Regions from separate parts of the Homo sapiens genome. Here region 1 is linked to region 2. Evidence: promoter capture Hi-C in human tissues and cell types (Jung and others, 2019). All regions are on one chromosome and are shown on one strand. Each heading gives the region's core, a stretch centred on a gene start or on the middle of the fragment in contact. The rest is flanking DNA. Distances are from core to core; before and after follow the strand shown.

Region 1 (2,834 bases), core at 40-2,539, 290 kb before region 2:
GGAATGATATTAACCCAGGCTAGCTGTGTTTGTCATTTCTCAGTTTCCAGAAACCAAAATTGACACTTAGGGGTCTCTTTGATGAATACCAAATAAACAATAAATTAACTGCTTTTTTTAAAAAAAGGTAATTTGTTGGATCATAAAAAACCTTTCAAGTACGGTGGGGGAACGATGAAATGGAAGCCTGGTGAGGAGAAAGATGGCAATATTCTTCCCTGATGTTATAGAGCATCTCAGCATTTCCTCCATCCAGATTGTAAAAGGTTCCTCCACTAGAAAAACCAGAACCTTCCTTTAGGAGAAGAATAAGGCTAATGGTCCATATTATTACCCTCCAACATGCTTTAAAAGGTCAAATCGTGGTTCCATCAAAGCTGGGCTGGCTCCCAGTTACACCGCTGAAAGGATGAAATTTTGCCTTTTCCAAAAGAAGGAGGATGCAGAAGGCAATGCTGTCAGTAGAGAAATTAATTCCTGGCAGGCCAGTGTTAAATTCCCTACTGGAATCCCTGGCTCGCGTTTGTTTAATGCATCTTGTGGATGGAGCCACGAGAAGCACAACAGCTCGGAATTTGCAGCTAGTTCTGAGGCAGAAGGCGCCTTCTCGCCACAAGATGGCAGCAGGAGCCTGCGTTTGAAGCCAGGGCTCCGCGGTCCTGCAGCAGTATTTCCCCCACCGCCCAGGAGGATCTGATTCCCCGAATTTTAACCAATTGTGTTACAGCTTTTGTCTCCAAAAGGACAGAAATAGGTTTTCTCTTTCCCTCTAATTGATTTTAAGTTTCCTTTTGTTCAAGCTCTGCTAAAAAGAAGAGAGCCCTATTTTTCAAGACGTCTATTAAGTGGGCCAAATAATTATACCCCAAAGATAAACCTTTTCTCTGAAAACCACGCTCAATATTTGCTCTAGAAGCAATGCTTGTGCTCTGTCAACCCGCTGACACGCCTTAGGGAAGCAGTCGACCCCCTGGGGATGCTTTGGCTTTCTCCTCCAAACCCAGTTGTTGGCTGATTGAACAAGAATCATCTGCTGGGACGCGTCCTCTGGGGACTGGTGGGCGCGTCTAAAAAGGTGATAAATTTGCCCTTTGGTTTCCAGGCCTCGTTACTGGATTCTCCATCACCCTTTTGCAGAGAATAACATCACCTAATAAGGACAAACAGCCTCCAATGTGTACTCAGTCATTTGTCCAATGAATAAACAATGTTACCGATTTACTAGTCTTCCTTCCATACTGACTTTCTGTTGCACAGCAGCCCCAGAAACAATGGTGAATTCTTGGCCTTTGTGTACGCGGATACCCCTCTGCCTGAACACTTTACCCCAGGCTCTTCACTTGGGTAAGACCACTACCTCCTCAGTCCTCAATCTAAATGTCACCTCCTTTGGATAGACTTGTCAAGGCCAGTTCTAATGAGAGTCCCCTCACAAAGCTCACATCACATCCTACGCTTCCATCATTACAGTTCTTCCAACACTATATAATAACTACTAGTTGATGGATCATCTCTCCCCAAAGAATGTAAGCTCCTCAAAGGCAGTGTCTCCATCTGACTTAGTTTACCTTATAGCCTGTAGCTTAAAGTTGCCTCCTCAACACTTATTGAATAAAATAATTGCAGAACTAAAAAACATACTGAAATTTTTGAACTTACCTTTTCATATAATGTAACTATGAATTCTACCTACTGTTTTTTGAGGTATCTCATTTACGTGGATTTCAGTACGCCATTTTCAACCCAGGGTGGTGGTGGGGCAAGGCAGGTGGAGAGAATTATAAATGGAAAATGTTGAGAATTGCACAAATCTCTGAGTAGCTCACAGGCACATGTCACAATATTATCCGTATTATATTTTTCTATGGGGGAAAAGTGTCTGGTGTCAGACCTTATGGGATCAAGTTAAAATACCCCTGTTTTATAGTCAAGTTATTCTGAAATCTGACCCTATCTTTATCAATCACCTTTATCACCTGTGTGGTATCTCCCCAACCAGGAGTATCTCTCATTTTTCCAAATACATGCCAGGCTTCTCTCACTTTTGTGATTATTCTGACTGCCTGACATACGATGACTTCCCTGGTGTCTCTCTATTCACGCACTTCCCACTCATCCTCACAAACCCACTCAAGTTCTCTTTCTGCCGGAAGCTTCTCCTGACCAACGAAGCCCATGCTGATTTCCTGTCTCTGAAAGTCCACAGTTTGGAGGGTCTGGATCCAATGTCCTTGGTTTCTGTAATTCAAATCACAACTTGATAAGCTCTAGCATGCTAGAATCCCAAAAAACAGGCTCCATGCTAACTGGGAGTGAAAACTCTACATTTTTGCTTTTTCTCTAATTATATACTGTCTGGAAACTTATTCTCCCCAACCAAAAAAATATAAGCTGCTCAAAGAAAGCTTTATGTTATATATCTTTGATATCCTGCAGGGTTTCTGATATGATCCTAAGCATAAACCCTCCATAAAGGTTGATTCACATAAGTAACCCTGTAAATTGACAGATGAATAGTACTACATTAGCCTGGGCGCGGTGGCTCACGCCTGTAATCCCAGCACTTTGGGAAGCCAAGGCCAGCGGATCACCTGAGGTCAGGAGTTCGAGACCGGCCTGCCCAACATGGTGAAAACCCGTCTCTACTAAAAATACAAAAATTAGCCGGTTGTGGTGGCACATGCCTGTAATCCCAGCTACTCGGGAGGCTGAGGCAGGAGAATCGCTTGAACCCGGGAGGCGGAGGTTGCAGTGATCCAAGATCATGCCACTGCACTCCAGCCTGACCCTGGGTGAAAAGAGCGAAACTCCTTCTAAAAAAAAAAAAAAGCACT
Region 2 (2,700 bases), core at 57-2,556:
ATATTTTAAACTTTACTTTGTAGTTTTACTGCTATGAGGATATTGGTATTGTAATTCTGAAACAAAACTGTGTTATGTATGTTGTAGGATAAAGCAATAAATAAATGTATTATTGTTTATAAGTAGCCTCACTGTTTTCTAATGCTCATCATTCCAGCTACCTAGTGGTAGGCAAAAACCTCCAGTCTGGTTCTTCCATGCGAGATTTTCTTTCTTCTTTTTGTGAATGTTCTGTTACCAATTTCTAGTGTAATTTTACCAGGATCAACCTTTAAAACCTCTAAATTTGTGGACTTTCTGTGTGACCTAGGGTTTGGTGTATTTTAATAAATATTTCATATACACTTGAAATGAGTGGATATTAACTTTTCATTTTGTAGTGTTAAGAATTTGTAACATGTAACTATTTCTCCTCCCAGATTGAAATATAACACCAGATCCCAATGACAAAACAACAAAAAACTTCAGGGCAGGATATGCCGTTTATTGATTTAATTATTTCATCAGTTCTGTATACATATTTATTGAATAAACATTTCAAAAATAAGGGATAGGAAAAAAGTCATTTGGAAGTAGAAAAGAATGTTTCAAATTACTTATCTAAAATGGCTTCTTACAGTTGTCATATATTCTTTTAAGGACTTGAGATGTGTATTTCAGAGTAATGTGTCATAAATCAGCGTGATTTTTAGAAAATATATTCTGTATCATCCTTCAACAATACCTCAGATAACTTCTTTGGTACTTTACTCAGGTAAATCTCTACATGAAGCTAATAGCAAAAGGCTACTATTTCTGGTAATTCTGATAAAAGTTTCTATGTCTTAATTTCTATATAATCTAAGTGGTTACAAGCAGCTATCTAAAATTACGTAAAACAAGCTGTGCAATACTGGCTCATCGCTAATTAACAGAATAATGTCGGACAAATCACTTATCAGTTTTCTAATATGCATAATGCGAGTTAGTACAGCACTTCATTGCAAGATCAGAAATGAAAGCATTTTTACATAAGAGACACTACAGAAATAATGCGAACTGTAATGCTATTATGACGGTTTGCCTAGTGGTGAATGATTAAACATTTAAAAAGTTTACTTTCATCTTAGATCATTCCATCGGAAAGAGGTCGAAAATGTACAGTAGGCATGCACAAAGGATACCGCCTGGAAAGAAGGTAAAACTGGAAAACAGGAGGGAGGCGGGGCCCAATTTTGGCTTCTCCTTCCGTCTCCGCCCCTCGAACGCCGGCCTGCGAGTGACGTCACGCGAGACTTGTACTTCCGCTTCCGGTAACTCACGTTTCTCTTTCTTCCTGTCTGCTTGGAAAGATGGCGTCCCGCAAGGAAGGTACCGGCTCTACTGCCACCTCTTCCAGCTCCACCGCCGGCGCAGCAGGGAAAGGCAAAGGCAAAGGCGGCTCGGGAGATTCAGCCGTGAAGCAAGTGCAGATAGATGGCCTTGTGAGTGCTGTTCTTTTTCCTCTGGCCCACGTGGGGAGCGCAGTTCCCAGCCCCGTCCCACCAGACGTACTTTCTAGCATTCTCCCCCTTGGGCTTGGTGTGGCTGGGCCAAAGTTTTTCCCTAGTACGTTTCTCTTTCATCTTCACTTTTTGTTCAGGAGCTTCGACAGCCTTCTCTTGTCTTCTAACGGGACAGTTGGGGCTTCAGGAAGGGGACTGAGAATAGGGGTGTGAGTGACAGGTTCCTGGGGTCTTGTTTTGAGATGACCGGTGGGGGGATTTGAAGAAAGACTCCTGGAGACCAGCAGCTAACGAAGGTGTCGAGAAGGATTTAGGGACCTAGTAGGGCTCTGGGAAGGAGAGAGTAAGGAAACTCCACTGATTCCCTGCTGGGATCTGACATCTATAACGTTCCAAGTGGAGATGTACTTTGTAGCCACTCTTTTGAGCCTGTACTTCGGCGCTTTATCTGAAACCGTATAATTTAGAATACTCTTTTGTAGTGTTCATTCTGAAAAACATAAAAGAATATCAAAGAGAAGGGCCTTAAATGTATTTAGTAGTTAAGGTTCATGAACTAGGACATCCAAGGAAATTCTTGATAAGGAAATGGACTTAGCTGGGAAGAGGAAAATCTAGAATGAGAAATTTTATTTCTGTTGTTTCGAAGCAAAATGCATTTATATGACGTTCTAGTTTTAAAAGTATCCTTCCTGCCCTCTTTTTAAAAAGCATCCTCTCTTCCTTTGATTTTTTTAAAGGTTATTTCCTATTAATGCAGATCTTAGATATTTGTAATAAGAAAGTACTTTTAAATTCATGTGAAAATTGTAATTGCAAGCAGGTATTTTTAAGTGGAAACTGTTGATAATTTAAACGCAGCATATAATTGAATCTGTTGAACTGACTTAGTTAAACTGGATACAAGAGTGTAGCCTGGTGGTTAAGAGCTCATTCAGTCTTCTAGGCTCTTCCACTTAACCAGCTCTGTGACTTTAAGGCAAGTTAGCCTTTCCAGGCTTTGCTTTCCTCATCTGTCAAGTGGGAATGAGAAGTATCTGTATCATAGAGTTGTTTGGATTAAATGAAAAAGTTTATGTGGTGACCTGTAGTACAGTGTAATCACTTAATGTTAATTATGATTATTATTATGAGTTTAATGTCTGTGGTTAGCAGAGTTTGAAAGATGCAGGCAAGAGATTAACTTTGGAATGTTTTGTTCTAAATGTCACTTGTG

What was found. Contacts are between HindIII fragments. The study calls those that stand out against the background at their distance.
Region 1: a contact is called between a fragment that was not itself captured here and the fragment with the promoter of EIF3H in region 2, in 1 of the 25 tissues and cell types used here (dorsolateral prefrontal cortex).

Annotation. Positions count from the first base shown.
Region 1 is chr8:117,042,669-117,045,502 of GRCh38, reverse strand. It overlaps a transcript of SLC30A8 not described here. Among named protein-coding and RNA genes, the nearest start is that of SLC30A8, 91 kb to the left of the region's middle. The HindIII fragment of the contact is 4,504 bases long and covers 1-2,834 here.
Region 2 is chr8:116,754,429-116,757,128 of GRCh38, reverse strand. It overlaps EIF3H (eukaryotic translation initiation factor 3 subunit H), which reads left to right and starts at 1,306. Exons shown (of 8, transcript NM_003756.3): 1 at 1,306-1,463. The coding sequence starts at 1,332. The HindIII fragment of the contact is 13,175 bases long and covers 1-1,657 here.